3 separate regions of the Homo sapiens genome follow, and all the other regions are linked to region 2. Evidence: promoter capture Hi-C in human tissues and cell types (Jung and others, 2019). All regions are on one chromosome and are shown on one strand. Each heading gives the region's core, a stretch centred on a gene start or on the middle of the fragment in contact. The rest is flanking DNA. Distances are from core to core; before and after follow the strand shown.

The links. Contacts are between HindIII fragments. The study calls those that stand out against the background at their distance.
Region 1: a contact is called between a fragment that was not itself captured here and the fragment with the promoter of CCDC175 in region 2, in 2 of the 25 tissues and cell types used here (bladder and hippocampus).
Region 3: a fragment that was not itself captured here is called in contact with the fragment with the promoter of CCDC175 in region 2 in 1 of the 25 tissues and cell types used here (H1 embryonic stem cells).

The regions. Positions count from the first base shown.
Region 1 is chr14:59,629,458-59,633,400 of GRCh38, forward strand. The region is part of intron 3 of RTN1 (reticulon 1); the gene reads right to left. Among named protein-coding and RNA genes, the nearest start is that of MIR5586, 16 kb to the right of the region's middle. The HindIII fragment of the contact is 3,319 bases long and covers 758-3,943 here.
Region 2 is chr14:59,574,348-59,578,511 of GRCh38, forward strand. CCDC175 (coiled-coil domain containing 175) reads right to left here and starts at 2,465. Exons shown (of 20, transcript NM_001164399.2): 1 at 2,272-2,465; 2 at 596-681. The coding sequence starts at 2,428. The HindIII fragment of the contact is 13,786 bases long and covers 1-4,164 here.
Region 3 is chr14:59,518,383-59,522,403 of GRCh38, forward strand. CCDC175 (coiled-coil domain containing 175) reads right to left here. Exons shown (of 20, transcript NM_001164399.2): 17 at 3,192-3,294. Among named protein-coding and RNA genes, the nearest start is that of JKAMP, 36 kb to the left of the region's middle. The HindIII fragment of the contact is 3,554 bases long and covers 1-3,421 here.

The DNA.
Region 1 (3,943 bases), core at 1,167-3,666, 55 kb after region 2:
TCTTGGTCTCCTGAGGGATGCTGCAAAACCCTGCAGGTTAAATTAAACGCGCCTTCTTCAGAACCATCTTTGTTAAATATGAAAAGACACTACCTCCGACAAACACCCAAGTTACTACACACAATTCATTCTTGCAAATTATCTTTCTCCTCATACTCTGTAACTGCAAGGTGAATTTTAATGTAACAAAGGAGAGATGGATGTGTGAAGTGTGAGGCTGAATAAAAATGGCTGAAAAGCAATCCAAGCGAGGCTGGAGGGTAGCCACACCCAGTGCTAATATGGACTATTCCAAAATAAATCTGTTATACCAAGGGCCACGGGCACTGTTTCGTTCTTTCCCTCCATTTATTTCACAGATACCTATTATTAATAAATAGTAGTCACAGGTTACTCCAATGACAGAAAAAAACCCCAAATATTTCAAAGTGAACCATCCTAATATGTGGCTACGCCATCATATTTTCAGGATTTCGAGAGCTAGTCTGCATCTCCACTCTCCTTTGTGTGACCACAAATAACAACCCTGAAATGGGTGTGTCCCTCTTAAAAGGATGCACTCCAGCCCTCTCAGTTAATGGTTCTGCCAGGAGATTTCAACCTTTGGGCAGAAATAAATGCACTGGGATGCATGGAACAATAAGAAAGCACTTTAACTCCGGGGATGAGAAAACATTAAACAAGTACTGAATGATGCACAGATCCCAAAAGAACTCCCGGAGGAGGCGATTGATGCATTATTTAAAATACCAGCATTACAACAAGAAAACAAAGGGGTGGGGGTGGGGTTAAAAAAAAAAAGAAAAAAACAACAACCAAGCACCATCCATTTTGATTCTTGAAATAAGAGGTTTACTACCCCCCAACACAAAGCTCTGGGGTATAAAGCATGCACAGGTCCCACAGGTGAAATGATGCACAATGGACGAGTCCAGGTCCCGGGTTTCCCGTGCGCCTCAGGCATGCACTACTGAAATAAAGAGAATACCCTGACTTTTCCAGTTGCTCCACACACAGTCCATCTTGGTGGAATCGGCAGTGGCCTGCATCGTGCGGGCTTTGGGGGCTCGCCGTGGCTCTCCTCGGGGGCGCCGAGCGTGCACTCAAGCGTTGGTGCCCGGCTGCTGCGGCTGGGCTCGCAGTGGCCGCGCGGCTGCGGAGAGACTGAGGCTGCACCAGGCGGCGCGCGGTGAGGGGCGGGAGCGTCGCTGGCGCCGCAGTCTGCGCGGCCGGCAGCGAATCAGCGCGGCGCGGCCCCGGAGCCGCCTGCGCGCATGGGGATGCGGGCGCCGCTCCACGCGACAGCGTTGGCTGGGCTGCCCAAGGGTGCTACCCTGGAGACGGGTAAAGCGGTTCTGGCCGCGAAGGCGCTGACGCGGACAGTGGGTGGGAGGTTTGGGAGGAGGGGAAAAAGGGCTGACGGTGGGGGTGAGAGGAGGAGGACTTGGGCTGTTCCTGGGAGTTCTTGACTCCCAGAATATGCGAGGTGCATATTCTAGAAATTTCTGAGAAACCCAAGAAACCTGCTGGACAAGACCAAGTCAACGGCATCATAAATGTCAGGCTTGCAGCATAATGTTCCCTAATTGTTGCCACCGTTTACCTTTCACTTCTCCCTCTAACTCTTAAAAATCTGAACTCGATGAATTTTAATTGCCCAGAATCTTCTGAAGAATTGCCAGATTCTCTCCTTTTGGAATATTCCACAGATATCCAAAACCTTTGTTGGCAAGCAACAATCACTGGAGAGAAAGCCTACTGCTCTGTCCCAGAGGGCTTGTGTATTTCTTGGGTTACCCCTCTCTGTTTGTGGGTTGAAGGAATCCATGTCAGAATGCGGTGCCTGTAGACCCCAGACCAAAGCCCTTGGACTCTGGTACGTGGAGTCATTGGTCAATGCAGTGACAATCCAAGGGTGTCATTTGTGGGGACGTTCAAACAGAACTCAGGGAAGCAAAGGGCATTCTGTCTCAACAGTGTCATCTTTGGGATTGACCACTGGGGGGCAATGGAGGTGGGTGGTGTGTATTTGGGAGATAAGACTTTTGGCTTCCAAGCCCAGGTAGTTAAGGATGTCAGGAGTCCACAGTTAAAATGCAAATGTCTAAGGAAGGAACAGAACAATGGGTGGTGACCTGCTTTTTAAATCTTACCATAAACTACTTTATCAGAACATACATCAAGACCCTGAAGGAATGGATGGGATAAATGTATTTTGATGAAGAAAAGGTAGAAATAGGAAAGAGAAAGGACTGGAATGTGGGCATTGTCTGGAAAAGAAGGTACTGTTGGAAGGGGTCCCTAGAGGAGACAAGACACTGCATGAGGACAGAGAATGCCCTGGAGACCACGGGAGCATACAGAAGAGTTCAGAGGGAGCAGGAACAAACTTTCCACTTCATCTTGTGGCATGGCCTTATCCATTACAGGGTCTTTTTCATAGAGAAGTGGAGCCTTCCCGATTCTTCTACAGTTGCCAGAGGTGTTCTTTCCCAGATCAAAATCTACATTTGCATACCCCACACCAGCATGGGCCTAAGGACAGTAATCTCAAGGTTATGCTTGTAGACATGATTTATCATCTTTCATTTTAATGAAGCATATACACTTTAAAATACGATCTTTGGGATCATGTGTATTCTTTTCAGAATACAAGCTTGTGGAGAAACCAGCTGGGCCTCTCTGCGTATCTTTGTAACATATCTGAAATTATTCTTGATAAAGCTTAATGGGGTGTCAGAGCTCCCACAGGGCTGATGGGAAGGAACAACAATGACCACATTATTACAAAGCACTTTTCACAATGACCTACTCTAAGGTTATTCTTGATTATTTTTTCTATTTGTATTCCCTACCTTTCCTCCCTCCTCCCAATTTTTTTCATTGCCACGTCATTTTTGGGAATTCTGTCAGTTAAATACTGAAAAGACTGGTATATGATGATAGCCTGATCAGCACCGACTTCTCACTGCATGATATGAGGACAAGACTGAGAAGAAAGGAGAGGGTAAGGCAGGGGTTGCCTGGTGGGCTTTTGCTGCCCTGGCTGCTTTTCAGTTGGAGGGAGATCTTTAGAGCTGTGGCCACTAGGAGGCACTGCCAGTCCAATGATAGCCCCAGTTATCATTCCCTAAGTCCAGAAGGTGCCAGCAGGTACCTTTACTGATGAGTATTGTGTCCACCACATTACGGGAAACAGCGTGTACTGCCAATCTGACAGTCTGTATAGTGTGTATGGTGAATACACAATGTTCCCAATAAGGAACAGGGAGAAGCAAGCTCTCTTTAAAGTGGAGGATACATTAGGTCAGACTTTCTGGGCCAGGCGTTTTCATTGACCATAAAGTTGACCTTGGGGCCAGGCGCGGTGGTTCACTCCTGTAATCCTAGCATTTTGGAAGGCCGAGGTGAGTGGATCACTTGAGCCAGGAGCTCAAGACCAGCCTGGGCAACATGGTGAAACCCCATCTCTAAAAAAAATACAAAAAAAAAATTTTTTCCGGGCATGGTGGCATGCACCTGTACTCCTAGCTACTTGGGAGGCTGAAGTGGGAAGATCACTTGAACCCAGGGAGATCGAGGCTGCAGTGAGTTGTGATCGCACCACTGCACTCCAGCCTGGGTGACATAGTGAGACCCCGTCTAAAAGCTGACCTTGGAATGTCAGCTTGGCTGAAAGATCACATTATTTTCATTCATACTAAGTGTGGAGAGAGATGTTGGATGGCACACAAAAATCCACTCTAACAGTTTGATAGTTGAAGGTTGAGGAAGTAAGATGGCTATTTCACAGACAGATTCACACTAGTGAAGTAAAAATTGGCGGGCTTTAGCTTAATGTGTAGGTGGTAAGAGAAACATAAATGAACTTATTCACGGAAAACTAGGAATCACCTGTATTGTAAAAGTTAGCTACATGGCCTTCAGCAAGTCATTTATCATC
Region 2 (4,164 bases), core at 1,215-3,714:
ATCCTTGGCCGAACAGAGATGTCTGTGACACCTCAGAAGGAAATTCTTTAAATATTTCTTCAACATGTCTTTGATAGGGGCCAGTTAAGTGTAATTGAAAGAGTTTCTCTTTGTTTTCACTAACAGTACCGTCTACTTCAGTGGAACATATGTCAAATAATCTTTGACCAGTTATGCAAGGAATTGCTTACAGAGAACTGAGTTAATTAGCACCATGCTTGCAATTTATTCCAGAGATTGTGTGTTTGTTTGTTTTAAGCAATGCTTATATATTGGTGTCCCAAGCATTTGCCCATGTGGTCCACCTCTTAACTGAACCGTATTATCACCCACATTGCTTTCTCTAAATGAGCTTGCCCTCATCCACAGCCATAAGCCCATAATTTAGTTTTCTTCATGGAAAATCAAGTAACAATCCACAGTTGATCAATAATTGTGCAAATCCTTACAAAATTGAGAGAAAAATATTTTTAAGTTCAGGGTAACTATATTCCCTAGTCATCTACTTAATACTTTGAACAGAATTGGTGCGAAATGAAAGTTTGAAGAAATATGTGGAAGATTGAAGAAATGGTTCTTATAGATAATACAATACCAATTTCTTAACAGCTACAGCAATGTCCTTAAGAAAGATCTTAGCTTCTTCATTACATTTAAAATAGTCACTTTGCAGTGATTGTTCTGAAAAAAAAATTAGAAAATAAAGATCTCTTATTTATCTATCCAAATCCTACTTAACCTTTTATGATCTAGCTCAAATGCTTACTCGGCTGGAAGTTACATCTTCAGTCTCTGAATTTTTATTGTACATTACACTAATCTCTTTTGTACTTATTTCCTATTCCATAATGTTATAATTTAGGTATATATTTTATGCTCCTTGAGGACAAATGTGCTGGAGATTTACATATTAATATTTTATAACTCAGGGCAAGAGGGTGTAATGATTTTTTTTTCCTATGAAATATGTTCTGAGTGTCTAGACATTAACAGAAAAATGTATTTGTACATAAGTACTAGGGTTGCATTGGCATGCCGATCTAGAGATCAAGTATGAAAAGAGTTCAAGGTTCTAGGTCTGTCATTGACAGTGACCTCAGATACATGTGAATAATTTAGGTCTTAATAACTTTAGGTCTCCTCAGTGGGTAACATTCCTTTTTTTTTTTTTTTTTTTTTTGAGACGGAGTCTCGCTCTGTCGCGCAGGCTGGAGTGCAGTGGCACCATCTCGGCTCACCACAACCTCTGCCTTCTGAGTTCAACGGATTCTCCTGCCTCAGCCTCCCGAGTAGCTGGGATTACAGACGTGCGTCACCACGCCCGGCTAATTTTTGTATTTTTAGTAGAGACGGGGTTTCACCATGTTGGCCAGGCTGGTCTCAAACTCCTGACCTCAGGTATCCACCCGCCTCGGCCTCCCAAAGTGCTGGGATTACAGACATGAGCCACCGCGCCCGGCCAACATTCTTCATGATAACATTTACCCAAGCATATTTGCTAAGAATTGTGAAATTAACCTAGCGCATTTAAGAAGGAAAATAAAAACTATCCCAAATTAATAGTAACATTGTAACATAAATCAATACGATTATCTTGAAGAAATGGGATGATTCTAGTGAAGCACTGAAATGTTTTGTTGTTTGGCCTAAACGGTTTTTGCACCGAACAAGAAACACCCTTTCTTGGATTGTCTTACCTTAAGCTTAAGTGACTTGATTACAGGTTCAGCTTTCTAACTGAAAAATACTTTAACCTGGCCCTATCCAAGGTCATTTTCTATTAGAATCTCCTAAACAACCCTTTACATCTAATTTTTCTTGCTCAACACAACAGAAGCCTCTTAAACACTCCCTTTCCTATTTGCTTGTTAAATTCTCCAGTTTGCCACGGCAAAATGTCGGAGGAAGTTAACTTGTAAAGGAACGGCAAGAAGAGAACTGAAATCGAAGGCATAATCTAAATGCAGGTGTGTAATCAGGTCGCAGGCATAGGGCAGTGGCTTGGGAGTCCCGGATTTGTCACCTCAGTAATTTAACTACTACTGAGGGTTGAGCGAAGTCACCTCAGCTGCGCTAGGGCAGGAGATCTGGGCACTTGGTCCCACCCGCCACCTCTCTCTCCCCAGCCTCCAAGGAGCGGGGAGAAGGCTCTGCCCTGCCCAGTGATGCCCTGGTTCCGGGAGGAGAGTCCCCGCTCAGGGTTCCCGCTGAGTGCCTCCTAAGCGCCACCTCTGAGGAGACGTCCCTTCCAGCGCCCGAGGGGCGTCTTACCCACAACAAACAGCTGCTCCAGCGCCTCGACCGCGACCGAGGAGCCCAGGGTGGAGGGTAAGGTGCATAACTCCAGGGAGGGGCCAGTGGAGACGGCAGCCGCCTGCACCAGCTTCTCGCCAGCGCCCAGCCCTGGGGTCCAGGGGCTCAGGGCCATTTTGCCGCTCTACTTGAGCGCCTCCTAAGCCAGAGCCAAGGATTGCCGGTTGCCACGGGCAACGAGGACACCGAGGTCGTGGGGCGCCCCCTCGTGGCCCGCACCTCTAGTAGGTACCCTCCTGGTTCTCTAATTTTATCCACGATAATTAAGCAGTCTGGGAAGAATGACTCTCTCTTTAGCTAATTTTTCCCCTTTCAATTTCCATTGCGTTAGTTCAGGCCTGTATCTTTTTTGTGGGCCACTGGAATCATAATAATGATCACTTTTGAGCGCATCTTTGTGCCGGATACTGCAGGAGAACCTTTATATACAGTAGCTCACTTAATCTTCACAAGGACTTTGTGAGCAGGCTCTTTTAGTACCTCCACTTTTACAGACACGTAAACTGAGGCGCGGGCGACTAAATGAACGGCTCAAGACCACAAGAGGATAATATTGGATTTAAAGTGACGTCTGGGCCGGGCGAGGTGGCTCACGCCTGTAGTCCCAGCACTTTGGGAGGCCAAGGCGGGAGGATCACCTGTGGTCATGAATTCAAAACCAGCCTAATCAACATGGTGAAACCCCATCTCTACTAAAAATACAAAAATTAGCCGGGCGTGGTGGCGCGTGCCTGTAGTCCCAGCTACTCAGGAGGCTGAGGCAGGACAATCGCTTGAACCCGGGAGGAAAAGGTTATAGTGAACCGAGATCTCGCCATTGCACTCCAGCCTGGGCGACAAGAGCTAAACTCCATCTCAAAATAATAAAATAAAATAATAAAGTGAAGTCTGTATGACTCTTTCTACTATGCTACAAAACCTTCTTTTGTACTAATTTAGAACTTTCCTTGTATCTAGTACATCACTGAGCACATTTTGCCTTGAATCATAGTGATTTTTCTCTGTCTTCCCATCGAACTGTGAGCTCTGTGATGACGGGGACAGGAGGATATTATTCATTTTTCTCTGCATCTCCAAAATTCAGCTTAGCATGAGGCTTAGGTTGAGTCTGTCAGTTCCTTTTCCTCTGGTGGGTTAGAGAGAAGCAAAGGTGATTCAACCCTCCTCTTCTTTTCTCTACAGATGGCAAAATTGAAATTAGAATGATAGTAACAATGACAATAGCTATCAATTGTTAAATGCTTATTTTGTTCCAGGCACTGTTTTAAATACTTTGCAGTACCCCATTTAACCCTCACAAATAATCTTTTGAGCTAGGTATTATTGCCTGCTTTGCAAGTGAGGGCACTGAGCTACATCCTAAACCACTGTGCAACACTGCCTTGGAGGGGACACAGCATACCAGTAGCAGAACTAGTTCTAGAATCCAGGCCTCCTTCATCCAGGGAGTGCCATATTTTGGTGTTGGAAACCATCCTGGACAACATCCTCCTTTTTTGCTGGATTTGGTCTATTGGTATTCAAATCTGTTCCTGCCCTTCTGGGCCCTCCTCTGTGTGGCAGGAGTAAGAAGACTGGATATGAAATTTCCTGGATGTCCTTGCCACCTGTTTTCTTGGTAAGTTCCACTAATGGGAAACACTTGAGGGAGATTAGAAGGCCGAGAAATCATGCATTTCTGCCTCCAGAAGTGGTAGTTTCAGGCTACAGTTGACTGTAGGTCCCAGCAGTTTTGGTGGCTCTAGAAGTGGCAGGAGTAGGAGCCAAGTGACTCCAGCAGTCTCCAGCTGCTCAGCACTATATGTGAGCTTGTGCGTACAGTACAGGTGTTATGGCAGCTCTGATGTCTGG
Region 3 (4,021 bases), core at 395-2,894, 57 kb before region 2:
CAACCTACAGAATGGGAGAAAATTTTTGCAATCTACTCATCTGACAAAGGGCTAATATCCAGAATCTACAATGAACTCAGACAAATTTACAAGAAAAAAACAAGCCCATCAACAAGTGGGCGAAGGATATGAACAGACATTTCTCAAAAGAAGACATTTATACAGCCAAAAGACACATGAAAAAATGCTCATCATCACTGGACATCAGAGAAATGCAAATCAAAACCACAATGAGATACCATCTCACACCAGTTAGAATGGCAATCATTAAAAAGTCAGGAAAAAACAGGTGCTGGAGAGGATATGGAGAAACAGGAACACTTTTACACTGTTGGTGGGACTGTAAACTAGTTCAACCATTGTGGAAGTCAGTGTGGTGATTCCTCAGGGATCTAGAACTAGAAATACCATTTGACCCAGCCATCCCATTACTGGGTATATACCCAAAGGATTATAAATCATGCTGCTATAAAGACACATGCACATGTATGTTTATTGTGGCACTATTCACAATAGCAAAGACTTGGAACCAACCCAAATGTCCAACAACAATAGACTGGATTAAGAATATGGGGCACATATACAGCATGGAATACTATGCAGCCATAAAAAATGATGAGTTCATGTCCTTTGTAGGGACATGGATGGAGCTGGAAACCATCATTCTCAGCAAACTATTGCAAGGACAAAAAACCAAACACCACATGTTCTCACTCATAGGTGGGAATTGAACAATGAGAACACTTGGACACAGGAAGGGGAACATCACATACCAGGGCCTGTTGTCGGTGGGTTATGAGGGAGGGATAGCATTTGGAGATATACCTAATGTTAAATGATGAGTTACAGGGTTCAGCACACTAACATGGCACATGTATACATATGTAACTAACCTGCACATTGTGCACATGTACCGTAAAACTTAAAGTATAGTAATAAAAAAAAAGTTCACTTGAAATGAATTAGAAATCTAGACATAAACACTGAAACTAAAAAAATTATACAAGAAAATATTGAAGAGCCTGGGGTAGGCACAAATGTTTTAGGCAGGAAACAAAAAGTACTACCTTAAAAGACAAAATCGATAGATGGGCTTCGTTCAAATGAAAAAATGTTTACTCTTTCTGAGACACCATGAAGAAAATGAAAAGTCAAGCTTCAGACAGAAAAAGGACTCATTTCCAGAAAACGTAAAGATTTTAACTGGATAATAGGAAAACAACACAAAGCAATGAGTAAAAGATTTGGACAGACATGTGACAGATTGTATTTTCCAAAGATATCCCCACAGTATATTCCATTCCACAAGTTTTTTTCCCTGACATGATGCTGACACTTCTTCCATTGAGAGGTGGTGGCTATGACCCCTCCCCTTGCACCTGAGTGACTGCCTCAACCATTAGCGTATTGTGAAAATAACACTGTGACTGAAGCTAGGTCATAAGACGCCATGAACTTCCACTTCGTTCTCTTGGGATGCTTTTGGAACCCAGCAGGCCAAACTGCTACATGGAGAGGCCATGAGGAGGTGTTCTGGCCAATGGCCTCCCTCGAGATCCAGCTGAGGGCCAGCATCAACTTCAGACACAGGAATGAGTGAGTCTTCAGATGATTTCAGTTCCCGGCTGTTGAATTACCCTCAGCCTTCAAGTTGCCCTGGCTGATGCCATGCAGAGCAGACATTTAGTTGTCTTCAACGAGCTCTGATCAAATTGCCATTTTGTGAGCAAAGTAAATAATTTGTCTTCAGCTACCATGTTTGCAATATTTGTCACAAAAGATAATATTCAAATGGCCAAGAAACACATGAAAAAGTATACTCAACAACATTACTCATTAGAGAAGTACAAGTTACAATCACAATGAAATGCCATTACATACCTATTAAAATGACCAAAATATTAACAATTTAAAGCGTTTTCACCATTTTAAGTGTTGATGAGGATGTAGAGCAATGGGAACTCTTCTCCATTGTTAGTGGGATGAGACACTTAACAACCACTCTGGCAAATTTGTCTGGCGGTTTCTTATAAAGTTAATCATACACTAACCATATATATTTCCTATAAAGTTAATCATACACTAATTGCTATATAATTCAGCAATTCCATTATAGGTATTTACCCAAGAGAAATGAAAACATGGCCATAAAAACACTTGTAAACAAATGTTCACAATAGCTTCATTCATAATTATCCCAAACTGGAAATAATCTAAATGTCTTTCGACTGGTGAATGAATAAATAAAATATGGTATATCTATACAATGGGATTCTACTGTACAGCTATAAAAAGGAGCAAACTAGTGAGACATGCAACAACTTAGATGAATCTTAAAACAATTTGCTGAGTGAAAGAAGCCAGGTATAAAAGTGTGCACCCTGTCATTTCATTTATATCTCATTATTAATGACAGAAAGCAGATCAATGGTTTCCAGGAACTAGAGATGGGGTAGGTGATCGACGGCAAAGGGATACAGAGAAAATTTTGTAGTCATGAAAATGCTCTATATCTTGCTTGTGGTGATAGTGGTTACAATAGCATGTACATTTGTCAAATTCACTAACCTGAAAATGGGTGCATTTTTTGTATGCAAATCAATAAACTGGATTTAAATGAAGTAAAAACTTTATATGTAAAGAACACTGTAATGGTTAATATTGTCAACTTGACTGGATTGAAAGATGCAAAGTACTGTTCCTGGGTATGTCTATGAGGGTGTTAACCAAAGGAGATTCACATTTGAGTCTGTGGATTGGGAGAGGCAAACCCACTCTCAATCTGGGTGGGAACCGTCTAATCAGCTGCCAGCGTGGCTAGACTGGCTGAGTCTTCCAAGATTCCTCTTTCTCCTGTGCTAGATGCTTCCTGCCCTCGAACATTGGACTCCAAGTTCTTCAGCTTTTGGACTCTTGGATTTACACCAGTGGTTTGGCAGGGGCTCTTGGGCCTTTGGCCACAGACTGAAGGCTGCACTGTTGGCTTCCCTACTTGTGAGGCTTTGGGACTCTGACGGATCCACCACTGGATTCCTTGCTCCTCAACTTGCAGAAGACCTATCATGGGACTTTACCTTGTGATCATGTGAGTCAGTTCTCCTTAATAAGCTCCCTTTCATATATACATATATCCTATTAGTTCTGTCCCGCTAAAGAACCCTGACTAATACAAGCACCCACACATTACTTACCCTCCTGAGCTATTAGTTGCCGAGACAAGTCGCTTGAGGTGTGCATGAGGGCTTCTTGTCCTTCTCTGTATTTCTCTATGTTATTCTTCAAGTATAAAATATACTGAAAATTAAAAGCATGTGATTGCTTTTAGCAGTTTAGTTACTATAGATAAATTATCATGTAGTCATTCAGCAAACATGTATAAATTCCTCCTCTGCGCCACCCACTATTCTAGGTACAGGGGTAACAGTGGGGAATAAAACATACCTTGGTCAGGATTCCATCCTGGGAAAGGAGATAAAGGATTCTGCTTCCTATGAAGCATTTCACTTCAGCATTTAAATAAACATGGCATTCTGAGTATAATTTTCCACCAAAAGAAATTAGAAGGTGTTCTGTCTGAATGCAATATGTCCACAACAAAAATGTTCCTTATGCAAAATGTGTGTACAGTAGATGTCACAAAGCAGTAATGCTGCCAGACTGGCATTCAGTGTAAGACCTCAGAGAGATGATTAATTGAGTCAGGAGACTGCATGGAATTACTTACTCAAGTCAGATGTTCACTGGGTTGGGTGCCAGTGGTGGCAGTAGTGACAGGTGACTTTGAGTATTACAGTCATGGCTTTCTGTTCTGACCACCCAATGCCCAGAAACTCTAAAGTCCCAGGAACTCTGGAAATATGGGCTTTGGGACATAAAACTGGTCCAGTTTCAAGAAAGAAACAAATACTATAAACTATCCATAAAAATCTTTGAAATTGTGTTCAGTGCTACAGATGAGGTAGACATGGGACTGTTACGTAGACTGTTTCTAAGCGTGTATTATAGGGTCTACTCATGTATC